Regions from separate parts of the Homo sapiens genome. Here all the other regions are linked to region 1. The links are contacts of gene promoters, found by promoter capture Hi-C in blood cells and fetal thymus (Javierre and others, 2016). All regions are on one chromosome and are shown on one strand. Each heading gives the region's core, a stretch centred on a gene start or on the middle of the fragment in contact. The rest is flanking DNA. Distances are from core to core; before and after follow the strand shown.

What was found. The method cuts DNA at HindIII sites, captures the fragments that hold promoters and counts their contacts. A CHiCAGO score of 5 or more calls a contact.
Region 2: a fragment that was not itself captured here is called in contact with the fragment with the promoter of LTK in region 1 in 1 of 17 cell types (endothelial precursors); the score reaches 5.4 in endothelial precursors.
Region 3: a contact is called between a fragment that was not itself captured here and the fragment with the promoter of LTK in region 1, in 1 of 17 cell types (M1 macrophages). The highest score is 5.3, in M1 macrophages.
Region 4: a contact is called between a fragment that was not itself captured here and the fragment with the promoter of LTK in region 1, in 1 of 17 cell types (erythroblasts). The highest score is 5.0, in erythroblasts.
Region 5: the fragment with the promoter of PLA2G4B here is called in contact with the fragment with the promoter of LTK in region 1 in 1 of 17 cell types (erythroblasts); the score reaches 5.8 in erythroblasts.

Annotation. Positions count from the first base shown.
Region 1 is chr15:41,512,370-41,515,201 of GRCh38, forward strand. It overlaps LTK (leukocyte receptor tyrosine kinase), which reads right to left and starts at 1,458. Exons shown (of 20, transcript NM_002344.6): 1 at 1,298-1,458; 2 at 608-751; 3 at 338-509. The coding sequence starts at 1,340. RefSeq lists an enhancer at 290-1,037 and a silencer at 744-823. The HindIII fragment of the contact is 8,992 bases long and covers 1-2,832 here.
Region 2 is chr15:41,810,890-41,813,589 of GRCh38, forward strand. It overlaps MAPKBP1 (mitogen-activated protein kinase binding protein 1), which reads left to right. Exons shown (of 31, transcript NM_014994.3): 4 at 1-56; 5 at 289-346; 6 at 1,068-1,238; 7 at 1,627-1,764; 8 at 2,030-2,212. Among named protein-coding and RNA genes, the nearest start is that of JMJD7, 16 kb to the right of the region's middle. The HindIII fragment of the contact is 1,838 bases long and covers 496-2,333 here.
Region 3 is chr15:41,778,191-41,780,890 of GRCh38, forward strand. The region is part of intron 2 of MAPKBP1 (mitogen-activated protein kinase binding protein 1); the gene reads left to right. Among named protein-coding and RNA genes, the nearest start is that of MAPKBP1, 5.1 kb to the left of the region's middle. The HindIII fragment of the contact is 1,930 bases long and covers 324-2,253 here.
Region 4 is chr15:41,889,831-41,892,530 of GRCh38, forward strand. It overlaps SPTBN5 (spectrin beta, non-erythrocytic 5), which reads right to left. Exons shown (of 68, transcript NM_016642.4): 4 at 259-375. Among named protein-coding and RNA genes, the nearest start is that of SPTBN5, 2.9 kb to the right of the region's middle. RefSeq lists an enhancer at 939-1,814. The HindIII fragment of the contact is 1,639 bases long and covers 440-2,078 here.
Region 5 is chr15:41,837,558-41,840,257 of GRCh38, forward strand. PLA2G4B (phospholipase A2 group IVB) reads left to right here and starts at 1,290. Exons shown (of 20, transcript NM_001114633.2): 1 at 1,290-1,365; 2 at 2,601-2,673. The coding sequence starts at 1,357. It overlaps JMJD7-PLA2G4B (JMJD7-PLA2G4B readthrough), which reads left to right. Exons shown (of 25, transcript NM_005090.4): 7 at 2,601-2,673. It overlaps JMJD7 (jumonji domain containing 7), which reads left to right. Exons shown (of 8, transcript NM_001114632.2): 8 at 1-24. The HindIII fragment of the contact is 20,869 bases long and covers 1-2,700 here.

The DNA.
Region 1 (2,832 bases), core at 208-2,707:
GACTTGGAGGCTGCAATCGACTCTGACGGGATGGGAAGGGTAGGTTTGCACACCGAAAAATCAGATATTACACTTATTTCAGGAGGGTTCGTGGAAATGTGGGGAGGCTCAAGCACCCCTTGGCGCCGCCCTGGTTGGGGGCCTTCCGCTCGGTGTAAGAGGTTCCGGGTAAGGGCTAACTCGGTGGCGACTACTGCCACCTTGAAGGGCACTCAAGGTGGACCTCCCCGCGGAATAGTCCAAGACGCAAGTCGGTGCGCACGTGGACTTCGTTACCCTGAGGGTGAAACCTCCAACTAGCAGGTCACTGTCCACCCTACCTCCGCCGTGCACTTACAGATACTGGCCAGGGCCCGGCACGCGCCACAGCTGCACGCCTCTCAGCTGCCCGGCGGCCCCCACGGTCACCACCACGCTGGTCCCCGCGTACGCCCCGTCACATTGTGTCTGTGTGGGCCCATGCCGGCCGCTGGCCCCGCAGGTAGAAAACAGCCAAGACCCCTCGGTGCCTGAGAGCAAGGAGCGAGGCAAGGGTCGTCGAGCCCCTGGCTGGGCCAGAGGGGTCTGGTATGGTGAGCGAAAGAGGAAGGAGGCGTCTAAAGCTCACCCGGAGAATTCAGCGGGGAGGCTGGCTCCAAGATACTAGGCGGGGCGCTGACTTTCGGGTCCCGGGGGCTGGGACTTGCCAGCGGCAGGGGCGAGGACCGCAGAAAAGTCTCCTGGGACCCCGGGCTAGAGCAGAGAATGGCGCCTGAAAGGTGTTGGGAGAAGGCGCAGGACGTTAAGGCGGGTGGAAATAGGATATGAAAGAAAGAGAGAACCCCGCAACAGCTGCCCTTGCGGTCGCGGCCACACCCGTCACCCGGCCCAGCCGCGCTCTCAGCCTGGAAGCCACTACCCGACTCCGGTCGCAGAAGCCCCGCGGGTGCGCGCTGATAGGTCTGCCAGTTTCTCTCCTCGAGCGCCTTTCCCAGTGAATAACTTAGGGGCCGCAATGAATTTGGTCCTGCAGCCTCCCCAATGCTTTCCTCAACTTAGATTGGTGGCCCCGCCCCAAGGCGGTGCTGAGACCCCAAAGAATGTTCCTCCTTCCCAAGCTGCGTGATCCAGACTCTGGGATTCGCACGCACTTGGCGCTTCTCGGCCCGCACTCCAGAAGCACGGACCGGAGAAATTTGGCTGTGAGAGTTCGAGGCCTCTGGAGGAACCACTGACACCTGGCCTGTTGACCGGCCACCCCCAAGCCTAGGAAAGTGCCTCAGGCTGGACGGTCCCCTGACCGCCAGATAGCACTTACCCGCGGCTCCGAACCACACCAGCAGCTGTCCCCAGCAGCCCATCCCTGTTGGGTCCACCCGGCAACAAAAGCCCTTGCGGTCGCGGCCACACCCCTGTCAACCTAAAGTTGACAGCTCATTTTGCCACGGCAGCCCTGGCCACCACTTACAGGGGTGTGCTGCCGCTGGCGAGACACTCCCCGGACCTAAAGCTGGTCTGGCCACGCCCACCTCAGACCCCAGGACGCCAGAGGAGGAAAGGGAGGGGCGTGTGGGCAGCGAGGTCCCTACGCTTCCGGGAGGAGCCTTAAGGAGTCCCCACCCAGGGGTTCTAGTTTCCAGCCGTCAGATGTGCCGCAGCCTGCTGGGAGCTCCGGTAGGTTTGAGGCCGGAGAGGAGGTGCCCCACGCTTAAAGTGGGAGCCACACCTCGGACACCAGGTGGGGGCTTCCAGGTTCCTGAGGACAGGAGCAGTGGAGTGTGCACTTCATTTGTGGCAGTGGTGGTGGTGGTGAGTGTGTGGCATGCGTCACCACACGTGGGAAGTACTCTAAACTGCTCCAAGTAAGGCCTCATTACCTGCCATTACTTGTGCCTTTTAGTGGTGCCTTTGTGACTGCAAGGCTGAACCTCATTGCTACTCCCAGAAACCTGGATCTCTGTGTTTGCCTCATATAATTCCGTTGCCTGTGTTACCCCTGTGCACAGCCTCTCACTGTGATGGGGTGAAAGACTGGACCAGACGTTAGAAGATCCGAGTGTTTTTAGTAGCACTGAAGGTCAATAGATGATAGGTAGGTAGACCGATCGATCGATTGATCTTGAGCACTAGTACTGGCACCTCTGGTCAATGGGTGATGTAGCACAGGCCACAACTGCCCTGAGAGTTTCCCCACCACCTGCAAAATCATATGAAGGGAAATTGCTCTGTAAGGTACCCTACAAATGTGGGAGCCACTCCCTTCAGGTAGTTTTGTGTCTTGAGTCTTCGATCATTTGCTTAAATGATCATTTGCCGGGTGCGGTGGTTCATGCCTGTAATCCTAGCACTTTGGGAGGCTGAGGCGGGCAGATCACCTGAGGTCAGGAGTTCGAGACTAGCTAGACCATCATGGCAAAATCCCGTCTCTACTAAAAATACAAAATCAGACACACGTGGTAGCGCACGCCTGTAATCCCAGCTACTCTGGAGGCTGAGGCAGGAGAATGGCTTGAACCTGGGAGGCAGAGGTTGCAGAGACGAGATCGCACCATTGCACTCCAGCCTGGGCAACAAGAGCAAAGCCCCATCTCAAAAAAAAAAAAAAAAAAAAAATCCTAACTTGAAAGTCTGAGACCTATGTTTAATACAAAATACTTCAAAAGAGAAGTTATAGTAGTTAGCTACTTGGTAAAGTCTGAGTATAATTCAAGGTGTAAACAGAACAGTGATTTTGTAAAAAGTCTGGTCTCAGCCAGGCGTGGTGGCTTACACCTGTAATCCCAGCACTTTGGGAGGCCAAGGGGACGGTGGGGGTGGGGTGGATCACAAGGTCAGGAGTTCAAGACCAGCCTG
Region 2 (2,700 bases), core at 165-2,664, 300 kb after region 1:
GTTGTGTTGTTCAATCCCCGGAAACACAAACAGCACCACATCCTCAACAGTTCCAGGTAAATGGGCTGGGGTCCTCAGGATACCTCTTCCTTCTGGGAGCTATGAGAAGGGCACTGTCTAGAGTCTCTATGGCTCTGGGGGCTGGGACCTGGTTGGGTCCTAAAGCCAGATGGGGAAGTGCCACATGTGCCATTGGTGTCTGCTGGTCTCACCTTTTGAGAGGCTGGGAGGGGGCTAGGCTTAGGCCAGGCTGCCAGTGCCCCTCTGAGCCTGCCCCATCTCTTGCAGGAAAACCATCACTGCCCTTGCCTTCTCCCCTGATGGCAAGTACTTGGTCACTGGAGAGGTGAGTGAGGAAGAGGGCTGGCAGTACTGTAAAGAGGGCAGGTGTCCTGGCCTCCGCAGAGAGCTGCGGTCCTAGGCCTGCTGTCACTTTGGCTTCTGAAACAGACACCAAATCCTGGTTTTCGCTATACCTTAAAATAGTGGTTCTCAAGCTTTAGTGTACATCAGAATCACTTGGAGGGCTTGTGAAAGCACACATCACTAGCCTGGTCCTCAGAGTTTCTGATTCTGTAGGTCTGGGATGGGAGTCTGAAATGTGCATTTGTAACAAGTTCCCAGAGAGTGCTGATCCTGCTGGTGAAGGAAGCGTGCTTTGGAAACCACTGCCTTAACTATTCCTTACCCCCGGGGGCCCCCTGCTGGGCTCAGGAGGAACGCTTCTGTCCTGGCGGCGTAGTCTTACTAGGGGCAGAAATAGACCTGAGTGGTAGTGGCTCTCAATGCCGGCTGCCCATCAGAACCATTCAGGGAGCTTTGAACAACCTGAAGTACAGACGGCCACCCAGAGATGCTGACTAAAATCCGGGGCCACTTTCTTCCTGGTAATCACTGTTGCCCTCAGATCTTTATCATATTTCCTCTATACCCTGCCCTGACTTTTGGCTGGGGAAGTGATGGTATCTAGTAGCTGAGGAGGCGAGGGCCCCGCTCTGGAAGACGAAGTGGGGCTGTATGCCTGTGGAGAAGTCAAGAACTCACTTCCAGTTCTTGCCTCCCTGCAGAGTGGGCACATGCCTGCCGTGCGGGTTTGGGACGTGGCAGAGCACAGCCAGGTGGCCGAGCTGCAGGAGCACAAGTATGGTGTGGCTTGTGTGGCCTTCTCTCCTAGCGCCAAGTACATTGTCTCTGTGGGCTACCAGCATGACATGATCGTCAACGTGTGGGCCTGGAAGGTGAGTGGCTGGGTGGGGTGGCCTGGCAGCCTCACAGGGGTCAAGTGTCAGCTGGGGAGGCAAGAGACTGCTGACCTGCACTGCTCCATTCCACCCCACTGAACCATTCTCATTCTAGAAAGTTATTTGAAGCAGAAAAGAGCAACTGTGTGGCCAAGCATGTTGGTTGAAGGGGCTAGCTTTATGCCTTCAAAGACTTCTGCAGGAAACGAATCTTTTCAGCTCCTCTAGAAAGGGATTATTTCCCTACCCCTCTTTTTCTGGCCAGTAAATTCTGGAAAGAAACACTTTGTCAAGTACAAATTCTAATTCTCCTCCATTCTCTGAGTCACTGTCTTCTTAGCTCCAAGAGACAGAGCCTTGATTCTTCCTTTGGCATCCCCTCCAGAAAAACATTGTGGTGGCCTCCAACAAGGTGTCCAGTCGGGTGACAGCAGTGTCCTTCTCTGAGGATTGCAGCTACTTTGTCACTGCAGGCAACCGACACATCAAATTCTGGTATCTCGATGACAGCAAGACCTCAAAGGTGAGGTGCTGAAGCTGGGAGTAGCCACCAAGGCCCCTGGCAGGGCCTGCCCAGCCCAACCCAGGAGACTCTGCCCCACTTGGGCCTCTCTCTGCATTCCCAGCAGTCATGCAGAAGTTTTGGATGAGCCAGATGCTGTCTGGGCTGAGGAGTAGGCCCAAAGAGCAAGGAGGTGCTGGAGGCGTCCCCTGTACTCTCCTAGGGCCCAGTTTCCAGGGGCAGGCTCTGGGGTGGATGGGGGTGTAACAGTGGTGTGCCTCCACAGGTGAATGCCACTGTGCCCTTGCTGGGCCGCTCAGGGCTGCTGGGAGAGCTACGGAACAACCTATTCACTGATGTGGCCTGTGGCAGAGGAAAAAAGGCGGACAGTACCTTCTGCATCACGTCCTCAGGGCTGCTGTGCGAGTTCAGTGATCGAAGGCTTTTGGACAAGTGGGTGGAGCTGAGGGTAAGTACCTCCGTCCCCAGGGGTAGGGTCTGCTCATGTCTCAGCTCAGGGGAGAACTAGTGCCCAGGGCTTCAGACTAGGGGCTGGTCCCTTGTGCATACGGGAGATCCCAGGAGAACGAAGCTTGGGGGAGCTAGAGCTTGGCCCATTTCCAGCCCTTGGTGATCTGTATAACTGCCTCCTCTCTGCTCTTTCTGTCTCTTTCCCCTGCTTTCCTCTTCCGCTCAGAACATAGACAGCTTCACAGTAAGTGGTGCCTGCACCTTCCTCTCTTTCTCATGCTATTTCTTTCTCTTCACTGGGCTTTTCCTACTGGATCCTCTGGTGCCTAGAAGAATCCTCGGTTCCTAATCCCTGGCTGGACAGGGCTGAGGGGCTCAGAACAGGGCAGCTGGGCGGCTTTTCCCTTGCCCCTGCCTTGGCCGGTCCCTCCTCTTGGCAGGTGGCTGTTGATGGGTGGGGAGGAGAGAAGACTGAGTGGGCAGGTG
Region 3 (2,700 bases), core at 39-2,538, 270 kb after region 1:
ATTTAAAGATGTCAAATATAGTGCGGGATAAACTTGGACATCCAGGTGAATAAAATAATCAGGAGGAATTTATGACCTCTTTAGAAGAGAGATCAAAACTACGATTAATAAAATGGTGACAAAGAAGTAGAGATGCAGCCTAATTAGGTGTGAAGAACATAAGAGAGAAGAAGTCCACGTATGCAGAAAGCAGTGCTCAGTAAAGGGTTCTTAATTCAGGGGAGACCTAGTTAAAAATATGGCTAAAAGCTGGTGTGAGAGAGCCAGTGGAGGTGGAGATTTAAGTTACATCAAAGAGTAGATGAGTGCTGAGATTTTTATTAAGCTTTTTCAGAGGGAGGGGAGTCTCTTCAGTGGAGTACATTGGAAAAGACTGATTTAAAGTTTTATGCTAAATCAGCTTAGTCTTGGTGAAGTGTGACTTGAAGTTATCAGTAAATACCCAAGTTCAAATCCTGTAGACTTGTCATTTCCTGCCTCTCATCTCTAAGTTGGGCTGTGTTTTCCTTAAGAAGCAAATGTATGTGTTCTTGATAGCTAACCCTCCTCCTCTGAAAGTTTCTGAAAGATTTTTATGTGGAGGGAGCTGGGCTTGTTTTCAAGGACAAAGGATAGAAATGGACCAAAGCCCAGCAGGCAAGATTTAAGTTAGGGTTACAAAAGGATTGTCTGTGCTGGAGGGTTGCTAGATTTTTAAAAAGTAACTGAAGGAGGTATTGAGATCGTCCTCCTCCTTAAGAGCCATTAATCTGATCTAGGTTATATTATTCCTTCTGGAAACAATGGGTAAGATGACTTTCTTCTAGTTGTGTTTTTTTAATTGTAAATCTAATTCTTCTTTCTCTATTTGTTTCCCCAAGTTTTTTTCCTGTATAGTTGTGTGGTGGTACTTCGAGCCTTTTGAGAAGTGACTCTAAGAAGAGTTTGGTTGGGTGGGTTTCATGAAGGAGAAAAAGTGGCAATACTCTAATTTCAGCTTTTGCTCAGTGTTTGAACGCATATATGATTTGGTATTGGGGAAACATACTCATTTTTTTCGAGACGGAGTCTTGCTCTGTTGCCCAGGCTGGAGTACAGTGGCGTGATCTCGGCTCACTGCAAACTCTGCCTCCCGGGTTCAAGCGATTCTCCTGCCTCAGCCTCCTGAGTAGCTGGGATTACAGGCGCGTGCCACCACGCCGGGCTAATTTTTTTATTTTTAGTAGAAACGGTGTTTCACCATGTTGGTCAGGCTGGTCTCAAACTCCTGACCTCGTGATCTGCCTGCCTCAGCCTCCCAAAGTGCTGGGATTACAGGTATGAGCCACCACGCCCGGCCAGTTATTTTTGTTTTTTGTAGAGACAGAGTCTTACGATGTTGCTCAGGCTGGTCTCAAACTTCTGGCCTCAAGGGCTCCTCCTGCCACAGCCTCCCAAAGTGCTGGGATTACAGGCATGAGCCACCATGCCCAGCCCCTGCCTTTCTGAGTAGCTGGGACTAGTGGTGCTTGCCTCTGCGCCAGGCTCCAGTCATTTCTTAGTGTTCAATACACACGCTCTGAGTTCTCCACATAGAATAGATGACTAAGAGTGGATGTCCCTGTGGCCAGCAGCTATGCCCCTCACCAGCCTTTGTGAATGACCTTCAAAGCTCTTGTTGAATTTTCTGTCTCTGAGGTCTCTTGAAATAAGGCTTGTGAAGTGTCTTGAGATCCTCACAACAGGTGGTATACAATGAAAAATGTCAATGTTCTCCTAGTTTTGTTTCTTTGATCACCATTTCATCCCTCCTTCCGGTGCCTGCAGCTGCCCTCAGCCTTCAAAGTGATTCTCACTGGAGAGAGAGGATGCTTCTCTCCCTGGACCCAACACCTCTTCATTTACTGTCTAAAAATAGCCCAGCCTCTTCAGGCTGGGAGTTGTCTTTCGAAACCTCCTCTCACCTACTTGGCCTCACTCATTTCAAAGTGGAAGAGCACTACTGCTTTCCAAGTTTTTCTCTCTTTCAGTTTGCAATTTAGGGCAGGTTCCCTTCTTGGATTTGAGTCAATGTCTTATTTCCTGCTGGTATTTTGAATGTCTTTCATTTGTCACCTGTGTATTTTCATTTCTTGACTGATGAAAAAACAGGTAGAAATGAGGCTTCAGCCTGACATCTGTAACCTCCCCACCAACCCTCTGAGTCTGAAGTTGGGCTTGATGCTGTTATCACTGACCCTTTGTTTGGAGAAAACAGTCCAAGGTTTGAAATTGGGGCTATGTTTATTCAAACTAAGCTTCTCTGAGCACATGGTCTGTCCCACTCATCCTCAGAGTATCCGTTGGTTTTACTTCATGTTCAGACTGCAGTGTTGTTAAAGAAATAAAGCTACAGTGTTTTCAGAAGGATTTGTTATATTATACTTCATGTTCCCACTGCTCCAGGCTAAGCGTCTCCTCTGGGCTCCATTGTTTAATGCAGGACAAAGCCAGGTTTTCTGGCAGCTTCCTTTTCATAGCAATTCTCAGTAGAGGTATAGAATGAGACCTGCCTACCTTCTTGGGTGTTTATTACCCCATTTGTGGATTTTACTTTAACTTCTGTTACCTTAAAAAAAAAAAAAAAAGTTGGTGAGGAAGGCAAGAAATAAAAGTGAGTATGACAGCCAGACTGGGTAGTGTGGATTTTTAGCGTTGGTATTTTTGAATGTCCAGATTTTCCAAATCCTTCCTTCCTTCCTT
Region 4 (2,700 bases), core at 9-2,508, 380 kb after region 1:
CACTAGTGAATGACTTGCCCAGACCTGGTTTGAAGCCCATGGCCCTGGCCCTCACTTTAGCATATTACAATGTTACAATATCTCTGGTATCCTGGGTTCTTCACCCATGGTTGGAGAGTGAATATGGACTTTGCAGTTTCCAGGATCTCCTATGGGGATCATAAAAGTTGTGTGGAACTTATGAATCCCCAGGGGTCTGAGGTGAGGCCAGGGCTGGGCTGGGTCACCAGGTGCTGGGTACTGGGGACTGAGCCATACCTTGTCCAAGGAGATGTGGGAGATCTGGAAACGCAGAATGATGACCCAGATGAGTCCCAGGATGAGTGTCTGGTCTCCGTCCACGATGTTCTCTGGCCCGATGAGTGGTACTGGCACCTGTGGGCACAGTTGGATGGGCTAAGCCATGAAGCCCATGTCCAGAGAGGACTCAGTCACCAAAAGCTTAGGGGGCCAGCTGCGGGATGGGAGCATCCTGGAATCTATCCTGCCCCAGCTGGGAGTTCCCTCAGGGAGAAGCAGGCAGGGGATAAGTCCAGGAAAGCAAAGGCTTCCTGCCTGGTTGGAGCCATGGCCTCAAGCCCACCTGGGTGAAGCCCCAACCTGGTGAACTGGGCTGGGCCCTCAGAGCAGGAGGACTCCCTGTGTGTGGGCTACAGGTAGACCTGGGCCAAGATCAGTGGTTCAGCTGCAGGGTTTGGAAATGAGGGGTCATAACAGTCAATGTGTGAGCCCAACAGACAATAGCAACTGTCTGCCTCCATCTCCCAGGGTGTCCTGGGATCTTCAGGGGGTGGCTGGGTCCCTGGGCTCACACCCAAATCTCAGCCCTCTTCTTCTGTTCCGGCTCCAACAGGGCCAGCTATAAATCCAGACTCCCAGGCTCCACCCAGTCAGACTGTCTTGGGCCAGAGCCTGGGAATTTGCACTTGAACAACACCTTGGGTGGCTCTTAGGTACACCAAAGTTGAGACTCCTCTGCCCTACATCCTGCCATTTGGACAGGGAGGATGGGTGAGTCAAGGGGAGAAGCCCTGCAGGATCTGGCCCCCAGCCCCCTGTGGCTCCATCTTCCACCCTGTGGAATCACATAGCTCCAAGGCCCATGGGATTCTTATAGTTCCATGGGATTCTAAGCACAGGACTTCAGGCCTTTGCAGGGCCGTGCCTGCTGTCTGAAAGTATTCTCCCAGGTATCTGCATGGCTATTCACCTCCCTGCCTTTAACTCTTCACTCAGATGTTGCCTAGCCTGACCACTTTATTTAACACAGAAACTTAAGGACTATTTCTCCCACCCAAATACACACTCTCGATCCCCTTGCCCTGCTCAAGTGAGGATCTTGGCTTTGTTTTCTGGTGTATCCTAGGGGAGTGGCACACAGCAGGCAATCGATCAGTAAGTACTGAATGGAGAAAGAAAAGGAGTGAGACTTTCCATAAGACCTGAAGGGCAACTGGCTTCAGCCGGCCACTACTAGCCCTGTGGGAGGAGCTGCAATCCTGGGTGTCCCCCTAGGTAAACTTTGGTATATCTGGCTGGCCTCTAAAGGATCCCACCCATGCTCCTGGGGTGGATTCCACCTGCCATGTCAATCACCTTGGCTTAGAGTTGGAGCCTCTGGTGAGTGGGGTGTTTGTCTGCTCCTCCCAGCTCCTGAGAGCCTATCCTCCTGACTTCCTATTGAGCGATGTCACGCTGGTGGCTTAAACTCACCGTGATGGGGGGTATTAACGCCATAGGATCAGCGAATACAGCACACTGGAGTTTTTATTTCCCCCAGAGAATCATTTGTTAAACGTTTACCAGCACACCGCTGATCTGGGTTCAATGAATCTGTCTCCCTTTGAAGCCAGGTGCCTTGAGGTGGGGGTCTGGGCTTTGCTTAGTGGAGCCCAGCGCCTGCATAGAATGCCCAGGGCATGGGAGCATCTCCATAAGCGAATGCATCCCTCATTCTGCCACACATTCCCTGTGTGTTTGCGGCAACTCCGTCATCCTTTCTAGACCACAGTTGCCTCCTATGTGTATGGAGACAAGGATGTCACCCTCACAGGTATCAGTGACATGCTGTATATTAAAGCTTGGGGAGAGCTGCAACACCTCTGACAAAGGCTGTGGGGCTTACACCCTTCCCCAGTTCCTGGAGGGGAGATGACTGGCTCACAGGGTCATTGTCCCTGGATCAACTAGGGCCCAGCATTCTGCAGCTGGCAGCGTTCTGCTCTTGCACCTGCTCAGGACAGCAGTCACTCCCATTCCCTTTGCTTGGGCTTCTCCCCTCCCTGGCTTTCCTCCAACACACCCCAGGAGGCTGGATGTAAGCTCCACTCCAGGATATAGTGATAGGCACGCACAGTCAGGCTCCATCCAGCCAGGCCCAGCTCAGTGACTTCACAGCCTCCAGGGACAGCCACCTCCAGGAGCCCTTGGCCTTCACAGTTCCCGGTTTCCAATGATCCCTTTGCCCCACCCCACCCCTGCACCAGCCCCTCACCCTGGCCATGAGGGTCCCTCTGTCCCTGGAGCTCCGGCCTCCTTTTAGTGCCCATCTCCTTAGCCTGTCCCTTTCTTTCAGGTGACTCTGCCTCCCCCCATTTGCTGAGGCCTCCTCCCTCCTTCTCCAAGACAGGCCCTGCTCCTCTTCCCCACCTGCCGTCTTAGTCCCACATCTGGGCTCTGTTGGCTGGTTAACCATCGATC
Region 5 (2,700 bases), core at 40-2,539, 330 kb after region 1:
ATGTTGAATAAAAGGTAGCTGTGAGTCGTATGTCCTTTTTTTTTTTTTTTTAAGATGGGGTCTCGCTCTGTCACCCAGGCTGGAGTGCAGTGGTGTGATGTCAGCTCACTGCAAGCTCCGCCTCCCAGGTTCACACTATTCTGCCTCAGCCTCCCAAGTAGCTGGGACTACAGGTGCGTGCCACCATGCCCGGCTAATTTTTTTGTATTTTTAGTAGAGACGGGGTTTCACCGTGTTAGCCAGTATGGTCTTGATCTCCTGACCTCGTGATCCACCTGCCTCGGCCTCCCAAAAGTGCTGGGATTACAGGTGTGAGCTGCTGCGCCTGGCTTATGAGTCGTATGTTCTGATCCTCCCTCTTGAAGTTGCCTTCTGTGGTCTAAGGAGGGCCTGAAGGTTCAGGTAAAAACTTCAGGGTGACCTTCACTGGGGGTGAGGGCTGGATCCCAGCCTGGGCCCAAAGAGCCGTCAGCTGCCCAAGTCCCGCTGTCCATGAGAGTCACCGCAGCCCCTCCCTGGGACAAGCAAGCAGACCTGAGTCTTGTAGCTCTCTGGTCCGGACCTCTTTGCCCAGGACCTTGAGAGCTATTCCTAGCTCTCCTATGGTTACTGTCCTCCCCCAGTTCAGGGGCAGCAGGTGGGACCTGGTGCCCTGGGGATAACCCCTGTTTCTCCCATAACAGGCACAGGCAGGAAGGGACGGAAGCCCCCGCCTCTCCTGGGGCTGTCCCTCTGAGGAAAGAGTTGGTCTCCACACGCTGACCCCCCCACAAACCATGCCCTGGAGGCAGAAGAACCCCCTGCCCCTGAGTGCCAACCCACAGGCCTCATCCCTGGCCACTCAGCACCTAGCTTTGAAGGGCTGTTTTATGTGACAGCCACTCCCCTGCCTGTCGTGAGGGGGCCCGGGTGTTCATCTCAGATTGATGGATCCCTGCCATCAAGACTGGGCATTCCTGTCCAACAGGTGCCAGAGTTGCGAAAGGCCTGTGACAGGGAACTCCACTCTTCCCTTGGCTGCTGTTCTGGGACTCACCCCTGCTTTCCTTCTGCTCAGCCCCTGGCAGCAAGCTCTCCAGGCTGGGATTGCAGGGCTGGGTGGGGCAGGCCCAGCTGGTAAAGGCTGGCGAGTGCCACAGAGGTATCAGGAGCTCTAGTATAGGCTTAGGGTGCCTCATTTCCTGGACAGGTGGCTGGTTCAGGAGTGGGTGTGGAGCTTAGGTGGAGCAGAGGCGGCGGGTAGGAGGGACTTGGGACCAATTGGGACATCACATCCCTGGCTCTGGGTTAGAAAGCTGACAGTCCTTGATCCTGTGGCCACTGCCCCATCATTCCTGCTCCTGAGGACTCAGTCTCATGGCTGTGGTAAGGCCTGGCAGGGCCCTGGGTCCCTACTGGGACCCCTGGTCTCTACCTGGGGCCTAGTTAATATGTTTCTTATGGGAGCTGTGGTCTTCTCCAGGGGTAGGGAGGGGAGTTTATTGACCACAAGACCAGGGTAGCGGGCAGAAGCCAGGGGAGGAGGAGGCTTGGGGATGAGGGATCCGTCCTGAGTGTTTTCTGTCCTGGGAACGGGCTCCTGGCAGAGCTCCCTGGCACCACAGATTTGGGCCCTGGAGACTCAGAGGCTCCCAGCTGCCGCCCTGAGGCCCTGGAAGCAAGTGGCTCCTCCATGCTCCTCTGACTCAGTTGCCTGGAGTGTGAGGGCCCTGGGCTGACCCTGGTGGATGAGGCCCTCCAGCACTGCCCTGGACCTGGTTGCTCCCTGGACTTGACCTGTTAGGGTCCTTGTGGAGGCAGGTGGAAGGCCGAAAGGAAGCAGTTGGCACAGGCTTCCCTGGTCCCGGTGCGCCTGCCAGGCTGCATTCCCAGAACCAGGGGCATGGGTTTGGAGGGAGCTACCGGGGGACCATCTTCAGCCTGACCTGGCAGGACCTGGAGGACATGACAGCCTGTGAGGGGTCTGAGCTAGGAGCCGCCTCCCCTGCCCAGGAGAGAGCCCATTTCCAGGATGCTCTTCTGACCAGGGTGGAGGGAGGGTACGAGAGCAGCTCAGCCTGGGGCCCAAGGCCCTGATGTGCTACTTCCCCTCCCTCGATAGCTTATGTCCCCTGCCACCCAAGACCAGCCGGAAAGCTGCTTAGCTGGGGTGTGGGCTGGGGATGTGGGGTGGAGAGCCTAAAGGATACTAGCCCGAGAAGGTGGAAGCAGGTCTGTGTGAGGCATAAATCTGGAGCCAGCCTGCCCGGGCTCCAACCCCAATTGTGGACCTCAGGCAAGTGACTGCTTCTCTGTGCCTCAGTTTCCTTGTGGAGTGGGCCATCGTAAATAGTATCTGTGCATAAGGTGGTTGTGCGATAAATGAGTTAATGTATGCAAAGCCCTTGGCCCAGAGCCGGCGCAGAGCATTGTGTAAGTGCTGGCAGGCGTCATGATGGAGATATCATGTCTCCTCTTGTTGATTCAGGATTCTGATGAGATGGAGGATGGGCCTGGGGTTCAGGATTAGGCCTTGAGGCACTGCTCCAGCCTCCTTTGTGGCCCCTGTCACCCTTGGCTTCATCGGCCCGTAGCAGGTCTCCCCTCTCCCACCTCTGCAGGCAGAGGTGTCCAGGACCTGCCTGCTCACGGTTCGTGTCCTGCAGGCCCATCGCCTACCCTCTAAGGACCTAGGTGAGTGCGCACCGCCCTGGCCCCTGT